Regions from separate parts of the Homo sapiens genome. Here region 2 is linked to region 1. Evidence: promoter capture Hi-C in 16 types of primary human blood cells and fetal thymus (Javierre and others, 2016). All regions are on one chromosome and are shown on one strand. Each heading gives the region's core, a stretch centred on a gene start or on the middle of the fragment in contact. The rest is flanking DNA. Distances are from core to core; before and after follow the strand shown. Region 1 holds the start of C15orf40 (chromosome 15 open reading frame 40). Region 2 overlaps HDGFL3 (HDGF like 3).

What was found. The method cuts DNA at HindIII sites, captures the fragments that hold promoters and counts their contacts. A CHiCAGO score of 5 or more calls a contact.
Region 2: a contact is called between a fragment that was not itself captured here and the fragment with the promoter of C15orf40 in region 1, in 3 of 17 cell types (megakaryocytes, endothelial precursors and erythroblasts). The highest score is 9.5, in megakaryocytes.

The regions. Positions count from the first base shown.
Region 1 is chr15:83,008,891-83,014,895 of GRCh38, reverse strand. C15orf40 (chromosome 15 open reading frame 40) reads left to right here and starts at 3,257. Exons shown (of 4, transcript NM_144597.3): 1 at 3,257-3,399; 2 at 4,533-4,659. The coding sequence starts at 3,289. LOC124903542 (a long non-coding RNA gene) reads right to left here and starts at 3,155. Exons shown (of 2, transcript XR_007064742.1): 1 at 1,837-3,155. RefSeq lists an enhancer at 3,020-3,079. The HindIII fragment of the contact is 2,628 bases long and covers 1,765-4,392 here.
Region 2 is chr15:83,158,060-83,164,064 of GRCh38, reverse strand. It overlaps HDGFL3 (HDGF like 3), which reads left to right. Exons shown (of 6, transcript NM_016073.4): 2 at 1-66. Among named protein-coding and RNA genes, the nearest start is that of HDGFL3, 47 kb to the left of the region's middle. RefSeq lists an enhancer at 4,836-6,005. The HindIII fragment of the contact is 1,695 bases long and covers 1,517-3,211 here.

The DNA of each region.
Region 1 (6,005 bases), core at 2,008-4,507:
ACACTGTGTATTTATTCACATACACCTAGTTTATATGCTTTTAAAAATCCCTTTTCCTGTTTCTCCATTGCGAGTTTTTAAGTGGGACTCTATTTAAAACAAGATAAAATGAGGCCTGTAGTTGCGCAGCTACTGAGGAAGCTGAGGCAGGAGCATTGCTTGAATCCAAGAGCTTGAGACCAGCCTGAGCAACATGGCGAGATCCTGTCTCAATAAAATGTGAACCACCACAAACATTTACAAGGGGTTTCCTGCCATTTGAATCAGTCCCTGTGTTTTCCCTCACCATTAGGCAATATGTCTTCCCACTCTGCCTCTCTCTCCCTTCAGGAGGCAGGGATGTGGGCAGGAGCAACAAGTCAGGTGCACAGTTTGGTGGCACATGGGGCGGATGGCTTTTCTCCTCCCCACTGGTGCAATGAAGTCCTCATATCCCCTACTCCTGAGTCACGTGTGGGAAAGGCTGAATGGTTCACAGCAGAGCACCTCTTAGCTCTCCTCACCCATCTAGCCAGATGCCATCGTAACTCACCTTCACAGACGTCCCCTTTATTTCCATGACAACTGCCAAACCTCTAATTGAGGCTGACGTGACTTCACCCAAAGCAGATTCTACAAATGACTGCTATATAATGCTGGTTCAGCTTTTGTGCCTCAATTCTTAACTGATTTCAAAGAAGGGAAATATGGTTTTGGTTTAACACCTGGCTCACTTTCTTCTGCTCAAGCCTTTATACTGCATGGCCTCAGTGGCCATGTGGACAACCCAGCTACACCTAGGTTTCCAGTTTCTTCTTTACCTCCAGCAACCTTCACCATTCCTTATCATGGCCACACCATATACCCTATCATGATGTGGAATTGCTCTACATCTGAAATAGGAAATTCAGACATCCCACTCTCTGGCCACAACCTTTGGTGTTTCTTCCAGCTCTCACTCACATTCCAGTTACACCCGTTATTGAACCTAAGACTGCAGCCCCTTGTCCTCTCTGTTCTTTTCTTCTTTACTTCCTTCTTTACCCAGTTAGACTCTACTTTTGGTCTCCCTCAACCCCTCTCCACCTTTGGTCTTTAATAACTTTAACCATTTCATCAATAACCCTCAACCCACTTAAATATACCTGAATCAATCCAGTTGTCTGCCTTATCTTCAACTTCCTGACTGCTTTGGTAGTAGCACTGGGGCCAAAAAAAAATTTAATTAAAAAAAAAACTTCTTAGCTGGTGAATCCAGGCATCTAAAGTAACGTAACTATAGGCCAGGCGCTAGCTCACGCCTGTAATCCTAGCACTTTGGGAGGCCGAAGTGGGTGGATTGCCTGAGCTCAGGAGTTCGAGACCAGCCTGGGCGAAATGGCGAAACGCCCGTCTCTACTAAAAATACAAAAAATGGGTGTGGTGGCGCGCGCCTGTAGTCCCAGCTACTCTGGAGGCTGAGGCAGGGAGAATTGCTTGAACCTAGGAGGCGGAGGTTGCAGTGAGCCGAGATCCCGCCACTGCACTCCAGCCTGGGCGACAGGCTCTTCCCATCCCCCTGTCTCAAAAATAAACAAAAATAAAATAAGGTAACTATAGATTGGGATCATAGATGATTTCACGGTCTCCCTTAACTGTCTACCGCTGGGTGAGTTGCAATAGTCAGCCCTTTGCCATTCTCAAGAGTCCCAATATACCTTCAACACCTCCCCCGCCTTAGTTAATGAAAGAAATTCCACCTCCCATCACCAAACCTACAAACACAGCTACATGTCCACCTAAGCTTTCCCTTAGGAAGGAAGGAGTGTCTAAGGCCTCCTGTAGAGAACTCAATCTCTACTTGAGCTCAGATCCTACCTCTTCAGGAACCGTCCTCTGCTGTAACCTCTCTTCTCCTGGCTCTTTCCTACCAATCTTCAAATATGATAAAAATAAGTCTCTGAATGTCATGTGCCCCTCCAGATACCAATTGCTCCTTCACAGTGAAGTCACTGGATTATTCTCTACAATTATCTCCATTTCCTTCTCTCCACTAAAACTGCTGTAGCCCGGGTCACCACCACCACCCTGATTTCTAAATCTTGTGGCCACTTCTCAGTCGTTACATGTGACATGTTCTCTCCAGAGTGTTCATCACTGTTGATGTTCCCTCTTGAAGCGCCCTTCTTTAGCTGCCGTTACACCGTACTCCTACCTGGTCAGTGTCCTTTGGTGACTTCTCTACCTGCCCTTGCTGTTCTAACCTGGGCCCTCGTGCTCTTTACACACTCTCTCATCCATTTCCATAGCTTCAATTGCCATCTGCTTTCAGAAGATTCCAGAATCTCTATCACCAGCCTTGATTTCGCAAACTCCAGTCACATATATTCAGTTACCCCTTTAACATTTGTATTTGGATGTCCTGTGGGCATCTCAAACTCATTATGTCCAAAGCTGAACTCCTCACCTCGGCCTCCCAAACCTGTTCCTTGGGCCCCAAACCTGGGCATTTCCTTGACTTTTCCCCCTTATTCGCACATGCAGTCATTCCCAAGTTCTGATCATTTCAGTTCCTGAAGATCCTTGAAATGATCAGCGCTCCACCCTCCCTGCGGTTACTCTAGTTCAGGCCACCCTCTCCCATTTAGGGGGCGGATCTCCCTGTCTCTGGCTTTTCCTCTGTCGGCCACAGTGCAGCCGGTGTCTTTCTAAAACCCAGCAAATTGGGCTGCTAATAATCCCTTGCTTGAAAGCCTTCAGTGACTCCATGATCTTGCCTCTGCTGATTTGTTTCATGTCTCTCCATATCACATGTCGCAGTGTATTTCCTCTTCTTTTACATTGTGGGATCCGCTGCGCCTGGCACAAGGTAGGTGCGCCATCGATACGTGGAAGATTCACAAGGGCCAAGCCGCCACGAGGCTCTATATCGACTTGATGGCCACAGGCAGCGCGTGGGACTCTGCATCTGCTGCTTGGCTGTGGGAGCGAGAAGACACCTGGCCCTGTGCACTCCTTGCCGCGCTCTCCAATTCTGAGAAGTGACAATACCTTTCTTTCCCCGATTAGGAAAGAGGTGACACACCTTCCTATCAGCTGAGCAGGGTGGGCCAAGACACGGTGAGGCCTCAGCTCCGCAGCTCCACTTCCTGGGGCTCGGCCCGTTCCAGAACAAAAGAGACTCGCGCATGTTCTGCGGCCACGAGACTCGCTCCCGCCGGCCTTAAGGTGTCGCCCTCTGGCCAGAGCGGATGCGCCGGGCGGTGGGGCCGCTCCTGCCGGCTACCTGCGCAAGCGCAGAGGGCTCTTCCGGCGCCTTCCCAGGCGGGGATGCTGCGGCTCCGCAGCGGGCTGAGGCACCTTCGGGCAACACCCAATACTCGGGGCTCCGCTCGGCTTCTTTGCGCCGAGATGCCTAAGAAGGCTGGTGCGACGACCAAGGCCAGTAGCAGGTCCCGTGGCGGCAGAGGGGTGGGCCTCAGGGGTACTTGTTGAAGAGCGCGGGAGAAGCGGGGCCCGGGAGTGAGTGGAGGCACTGCCAGCGGCTTGCCGTCTCTCAGTTCCGGGGCTCAGGACAGCCGCCGCCACCCCCAGAGCTGCGGCCTGCTGCCGTCGCCCCGCCTCAGTAGGCTGCGCTGCCGTCCACCTGGTGATTTCTGAGCGCTGGGCCCGGCGGCAGCCGAGCTCTCCTTGGGCTGCGTGTGCTGACCTTTGGCCTCCTACCCGCACTCCCAGTCCAGCAATTCATGTTCCCGCAGCGGCATGACCTGCGTTTCCCCAGGAGGCTGTATTCTGCTTTCTCCTCCCTTGCTTTGGCTGATCGCACCCCTTCTGTCAAGAATACAGCACTCCCATTTCCACCATCTTTGTTTGGCCAACCCCAGTCCGTTTCTCAGACTCAGCTCAAGCACTGCCTCCTGCTGGCAGCATTCTCCAGTGCCCCAATGCTGATTTGCCTGTGGGGTAATGTTCTGTGCCTATCTCATCGGTGCACTTAGCACAGTGTATTATAATTTTGTATGTTCTTTCTCCCTCGCAGCAGTCCGAGCTCCTTGAGAGCAAGGACCATGTACCTTTTCATCTTTACATATCCATTGCCTACATATTTGTTGAACGAAAGTTCCTAGCACAGCCCCTGTCCCATAACAGGCCTTTAAATATCAAGCACTATTTTTTTTTCCTCCCTTTCCCGCAACATGCAGACATACACACTTTCACCAACATTTATTAGCTCCGACTGCATGAGATACAATGATGAATAATAAATGATCCCTGCCCCCAAGGAATTGGAAATACAAAGCAGAGGGAGGAGCAAGCATTAAGGTTTAGAAGCCAGAGTTAGGTTTTCTTGCAAGGGGGGAAAAAACACTGTTGGGTTGATGGGAACCCTTCGTGGGAAAATTGAGTAGAGCCTTGAAGGTTGTGGGAAAAGCTTTCTAGGTGGCCAGAAGTCCCTGGACACCACTGATGAGCCTAGTTTGTCTGTTAAGGGTGAAAGGGGGTAGTGGAAGAATCAAATTAAATGTGTGGGAAAATATTTTGTAACCTGTAAAGTTGTGTGGTTGTCATTTTAGGGTAAAAGCCAGAGCAAGGAACCAGAGAGACCACTTCCTCCCTTAGGTCCTGTGGCAGTTGATCCTAAAGGATGCGTCACCATAGCCATCCATGCAAAACCTGGCTCCAAACAAAATGCTGTAACAGGTATACCTGGACACTGGGGTGGGATTCAAGTGTGAATCAGGTGTCTCCTACAGCCCTCCTTTGCTTTGGTTAGCTGAAAGCTTATTCTATGACAGTTGATTTTTCACATCTGCAGTTAGAGGCTTCTCCATTTTAAAATTCTAGATTCTAATGTAAAGGTGTCTTAAAGTGAATATATCTTTAAATCATGCCAAGTTACACGAAAACCATTGTATATTTTCCTCTTTAAAAATACAGTATTTTAGAAAGGACAGTTATGGAAACTTGTGTGTAGTCTGGATTATTCTTAGTTTGTCCTGTTCCAAAACTGGAGACATTGGCCAGAGAAAGAAGAGACATTTTAGTGTAGTTTAATGATCACTGGCCTAAGGAGAGGGAGAAAACTTGAGATCTGAGACCCGTGATCAGTTCCTGTGCGAATTTGTTTTAAATCAAAACAGTATAAAACATTCATGGGTCCAGTTTTTTCATCTGTCAGATGAGATCGTTGGACTAAGTTAGAGGCTTTCAGGCTATTCTCTGGAGTGCTGGAGGTGCCTCAGGAATCAGCTTTGGGCAAGGAGGAGGCCAGGCAGACAGGGCTCCTGACTAGCTCTGTTTACATTTGTTTTACATATTGGGATTCTGGAGAAAATTGGGGGAAGGGATTCTAAAGGAAAAAAAGTTCAAAAACCATTGCTCTAAATTCTTTTGAAGGTCTTTTTCACCTCTAAAGCTCTGTATTTCAAACCATTTTTAGATTTTGAAAGGAAAACCACAACATTGACGTGCTAGACCTGGTTTATGCTGATGACCAAGTTAACTTAGCCATACCCTCCTTGGCCAGCATTTTCTAAGTAGTGGGTGTGGACACTGTCTACGTTGGAGTATTATGTTTCATTAGATCTAAAATGGGAGGCTGGATGCCATGGCTCATTTGTAAAATGGAGATAATAATGGTACTAATATCTTCATAAAGTTATTATAAGGATTAAAGAAGTTAGTATTTGTAAAGCCTTTAACACATTTGTGTGTGCTTAAAATTGGTGTATAGTAAGTGCTCTGTAAATATTTGTTAAGTAAACATTATTAAATTTTAAAAACACTCAAGATATGTGTCACATAAGAGGTGAACCTAGTCCGGGGCTCTCATTTTCCTGTTGAGGAAACCCTGCACAACCTTGTACAATCTAGTAAGCTGCCCTGTCCATACACTTCTTCAGTGACATTGATGAGGCTGAAGGCCATCTATGACTCCCTGCCTGGGGCTCTTCACATACCAAGGGCAATTTCCAGTTGCCTAAATCCAGGATATTCCCCAGGGCTCTGTAAGCCCATCTTGGTCGGCAAGATTGGGTCAATAACTT
Region 2 (6,005 bases), core at 1,115-3,614, 150 kb before region 1:
CCCAGAGGGCGCTGTGAAGCCTCCAGCAAACAAGTATCCTATCTTCTTTTTTGGCACCCATGAAACGTAAGTTAGCAAAAATAGTTTCAACAGCTCTAGCTTGACTCTGCTATGCTACATTGTTATGGATGATCTCTGACATCTTACGTCTTATTAAAATCATTATAATCAGTTATATAAAATTGCCAAAGTTAATAATGTATTTTTGTTAATGTAAATAGTTTTCATGATAGAAGTCTTTATGACTAAAAGCGTATCTTTGCTTTTGAATGTCATTTGTGTTTCTGCTTAAATGTTGGTCATCACCCACAAGTCTCCTCTAGGACACTTTTAAGTCCTAGAGTGGTTTCTGTACCACTCCCAGTAATTTCTTCTATTGCTCTTATATATTTCCCTTCCAGAGAAGTTTTTTCCATTCATATTTCACAGAACAAAGTTATGTTCTCTCTGGCTCTTTCACCTTGTTGGGCCCTCAAGGAAATATACCACCTTTTTTAGGTTTTCTAACTGTATTTGTTGGTGTACTGACTACACTGATGTAATAAAGGAACCTAAAAATACAATGTCTCAAATAATATAGAAGTTTATTTCTTTCTTTTGAAATAATTCAGAGGTAGGCAGGTAGATTGGGGTGGGTAGACTACTTTGCCCTAGGGACCGGAGCTGCTTCTGTTTCTTGTCCTGTCATTAACCGCTAAAACAAAAAAACTGGCTCAGCAGCACATGTGCATCTTGCAGGCAGTGGGAAGGAGGAAAGAGAAGAGGTGAAGAACAAGTAGTTCCTTGTAAGGAAATGACAGGAAGTTACATACAGTAGATCTTCACTTAAGTTGATAGGTTCCTGGCAACTGCGACTTTAAAGGAAACATCAGACAGCAGGCTGTCAACTAACTTCTTTTTGTTCAGTGTTGTCACAGTTTCCAAAAACCTATCGACATTAAGTGTGGACTTACTGTACATCATTTACACTGGCATTCATTCCAGTGACAAGAACTTGGTGATGTGGCCACATCTAGCTACAAGGGAAGCTGAGAAACAGTCTCTAGCTGGGCAACTCTGTATCCTGCTTTAAAAATTGGAAGGAATATTCAGTATAGGAAAAAAGAAGAGCATGAATACTGTGGAATAGTTGGCAATCTTTGACACACTAGGAACGGATATGGTTATTTACAACAAAAAACAAATGGAACAAATTGGAAATGTGGAGAAAAGCTAAAAACTGTCACAAAATTTTTAAGTCTTCAAATTCAGGGTCATCACTTATGTTCATTTGAACGTTAGTAGAGCCTAGCATGAACTTTCTTAGCTTGTTGTCTCTGCCACCCAACATCTTCCTCATTCTTGTCTTGAAAGAGAGTTAGGAGAAGCCTCTCAAGACAGACTTTTTTTCGTGAGAGAAATAATTGTAATTTCTCTCAGGAAGTTTTATTTACTTTTGTATTATTTTTATGTAATAGACATTATGGACTATGCAACTGATCATGTTTTCCTCCTTAAGAGAGGTTGCTAGAAAGCTTAGAAATAAGTTTTACCTATAATAAATGTATAGGGCTTTATGATGCATATTTTTGCATTTTCCTTATTCCCGCCCCCATTTTATTTTTGTACCATTGGTTTGATTTTTTTAGAACCCATCTCCAAATGATCTGGTTGTACAGTAGTCTATATGTGATTTTTTTGCTGGTTTGATCATCCAGAGGCAGATTTAAAAATACCTGGGGGAGAATTAACTTCAAAAAACCTGTCATAACATTGATTCTACTGAACTTAGTTACTAAGTATTGGGTGTCCCTGAACCTGAGATTATACTTGCCCTGGCAAGTATGAATGTTCACCCTCTCTGAAGGCAGAAATTATGTCAGTGTTTCTTACTCTACTTACACAGTGCTTAACACAGTGCCTGGCCCATGGTAGGTGTTTAAAAAATAGCTATCAATTAAATTAAAATTAGTTAAATGATGCAGGGGAGGTATGTGAAAAGTGAGGTGAGCTTAACAAGAAGGCTACGTTTGGTTCAGCTAAAGGAGTACCCTAGGCACGACCAGAATTTTCCTCAGAACATGACTTTGAATCTGTTCTAATTCTGATGTAGGTGACTGGAGCCTCAAGTTCTTCTGCTTCTAACATAAACCCAGTAGTTTTAGTCTAGACAATTTTCAAGGAACCCTTAACATGGAAAAATATATCATCCTCAGTGCATTTAGCTTTGAAAAAATGTATTTTCTTTTCTATGCTTAAAAAATTTTAAAACATATAGCAATTAACCAATTGAGAGGGGATTTGATTTACACAATTATCTATAATCCAGAAAAAAACAGGGTTGTTTATCAAAAAATTACAACTTGTTTTAGAACAGTTCATTCAGGCTCCCTCTTGCCGGCAGTAGCTAACATGGCCAGTTGTCAGTTAAAGTCATTCCTGCGGAATGCTAGTAAAAATGTATCATTTATTCATAAAAGAATGCTTCCTGTAGCAGGAAGACGTCCATCTCATACATCCAAAAGTGGGACAAGATAAAAATAAAGAGGGCAAAAATTGTTAACTCTTTCATCAAAAAATAATGACCATTAGCCCTGACTCTTCTGGCATTATTACAGTATAGGCAGCTGAGTGCAGTGGTTCATGCCTGTAATACCAGCACTTTGGGAGGCCAAGGCTGGAGGATCACTTTAGCTCAGGAGTTCGAGACTAGCCTGGGCAATATAGTGAGATCCCGTCTCTACAAAAAAATAACATTAGCCAGGCATGGTGGCTGTAGTCCTAGCTACTCAGGAGGCTGAGGTGGGAGGATCACTTGAGCCTGGAAGCCAAAGCTACAGTGAGAGACCCTTTCTCCCCTGCCCAAAAAAATAAGTATAGGCAAGCCCTGATTAGCATCAAGTAGCTGATGTGAATACCAGGCAGCTTAGCCCACAGTTATTTCTTAAGCATAGAGTCAAAGACTGGGGAAGGTCAAAAGCTAGAGTCTAATAATTCACGACAAATTCTTCTAAAAGTGAAGTTGCCATACACAAAGTCCATTTATTGTGTTCAGTTTATCAAGCAAGACTTTGACTTTTTTTTATTAAGATGTCCAGTAATGTAATAAATTATTTCTGGATTCAATGAGGTAGAATCATGCTGACTGAGCAATTAAAGGTGAACAATAAGGAAAAGGTTGGTGCTTCTTAAAAGTTTGGTGCTTCTTAAACCGCTCTGGGGTCAGAAAGCTTACCCAGGAGTTTTAATGAACTTGAAGTTTTTGATCAGCTGCACAATGCGAGGGATCAACCCTGAGACCCAGGCAGAAAATGGAATTTACAGAGATCAATAGTAAACTGTTAACCTCTCGTCTGAAAGCTTTCAGTATCTTCTCTTTACTGATAATTTCCAAATTTACATCTCCAGCTTACACATTTCCCCTCTACTCCAGAGTCCTCTCTCCAGCTACCTGACATCTCCACTTGGATGTCTAAACTGGATTTTAAATGTAGCATTCAAAACTGAGTTTTTTGCCCCCAAATATTGTTCCCCCCCCAAAATATTTCCATTTCGGTAAATACCAACTCCTTCTTATTTCTCAGTCCAAAACCTTGGAGATGGCCAGGTGTGGTGGCTCATGGCTGTAATCCCAGCACTTTGGGAGGCTGAGGTGGGCGGATCACAAGGTCAGGAGATCAAAACCATCCTGGCCAACATGGTGAAACCCCGTCTCTATCAAAAATACAAAAATTAACTGGGTATGGTGGCATGTGCCTATAATCCCAGGTCCTCAGGAGGCTGAGGCAGAAGAATCGCTTGAACCAGGGAGTCGGAAGTTGCAGTGAGCCGAGATCGTGCCAGTGCACTCCAGCCTGGCGACAAAGTGAGACTCCGTCTCAAAAAAAAAAAAAACCTTAGAGATATCCTCAACTCCTCTACCCTTTCTCACATATGCCATATGCAGCCCATCAACAAATCTTGATGCTCTTTCTTGAGAATGAATTCAGGATCTGACCACTTCTTACCAACAGTACTGCTTACACCCTGGTTCAAGTCACCATCATTACTTCAGAAGCCTTCTAATTAGTCTCCCTGCTTCTACTGTAGTAACTAAGTCTTCAGTCTGTTTTCAGTACAGCAGCCAAAGTTATCCTATTAAGACATAAATTGCCACTTCTCTTCTCAGAACCTTTAATGGCTTCCCATCTCACTCAAAGCCTTTATAGTGGCCTTCAAGGCCCTAAATAATCTGTGCCCCTACTCTGTTAACCTGTCTCACACCAGTCGTCCTTCACTCATTTCACTCTAGCCACACTGACCTCTTCTGTTTCTCAAACTTATGAGGCACTCTTCCTCTCCCACCTGAGGGACCTTGTACTTGCTCTTTCTTCAACTTGTTCTTTTCTTCTCCAGGTAACTGCATGAGTTATTCCTTCACTTTCTTTGTTCTTTACTTAGCTATTCCCTTTGCCTTCCTTGATCTGTATATCTATAATTATAAAATCCATCTCCTATTCTTCCCATCCTTCTCTGCTTTATTTTTTTTAGCACACATACTATATATTTTATCTTTTTATTGTCCAAACCCCCACCCCTGCCACTAGAACATGTGCTCCAAGAAAACAGAGATGTTTGTCTCTTTGTTCCCTGTAGCTCCTCTGGAATAGTGCCTGGCACATTGTATTAACAAATGTTCAATCAATGTTTGTTGAATGAAGGAATGTGTGAATCTCAGTTTGAGAAGTAAGCTCTAGGGGTGTCAGCCAGAACTGTGGCCTAATGCTAAAGACTCTGATCTATTAGCCAGGCTCAGAATTTGTTCTAACTTCTTTTTTTTTCTTGGTTGTGATTAATTTAGGATGTGGTTTAAATTGGATAAAAGTCTATCTGCTTTGTCACTTCTAATTTTTTTCTTAGTGCCTCATTAAACACTAAAATGATTTTTTAATTTATAGAAATAATAGGCTGGGCACGGTGGCTTATGCCTGTAATCCCAACACTTTGGGAGGCCGAGGCAGGTGGATCACCTGAAGTCAGGAGTTCGAGACCAGCCTGACCAATGTGGCGAAACCCCGTCTCTACTAAAAATACAAAATTAGTCAGATGTGATGGAGCATGCCTGTAATCCCCTACTTGGAAGGCTGAGGCAGGAGAATCCCTTGAACCCGGGAGATGGAGGTTGCAGTAAACCGAGATCATACCATTGCACTCCAGCCTGGGCAACAAGAGCAAAACTCTATCTGAAAAAAAAAGAAAGAAATAATAGTGAATAAATATACTAACGTGGTACAGTAGTGCCCCCTTTATCTGTAGGGGATACATTCCAAGACCTCCAGTGGATGCCTAAAACCGTGGATAGTATGAAACCTATATATACTATGATTTTTCCATCTGATAACAGAGATAGCTATTAAGTAACTAGTGGGAAGGTAGTGCAAATATGATGGATATGCTGGACAAAGGGATGATTCATGTCCCAGGCAGGATGGAGTGGGTGTGAGATTTTATCACCTGTTCAGAGGGGTGTAATATTTAAAACCTATGAATTGTTCATTTTCCATTGGACCACAGTTGACCATGGGTAACTAAAACCACAGAAGGCAAAACCACAGTTAAGTGGGGAATTACTATATAGAGAGTTAAAATCTTTTTTTTATTCTAGCATTTATATTTTTACTGTGAATTTCACAAAACCCTTACCTGTGGTAAGATTAACATAGATAAATCTTAGTTTAAGATGATGATTTAAGTGGCCAAAGTAGACATATTTAATTCTACTTATGTAACTAAAAATCAGTTTTTAAATGAAGATATTGATAATTTAAAAGTAAAATCAAAGTAGCACAATCCAGGTGGCTGGCTTGTATGCTCAGCTATCCATTTTTTCTGCCTTGAAGTATGTGTCTGAAACACCTCGTAATATGTGCCTAACTTGAAGGGTTTATATGTACTTTAGATTTGTTTGCTATAGTATGCTCTGACATCTTCACTGATACTGATATTTAAAATATCTTACCTTTGAAGGTCAGTGTGTCAATTCTATT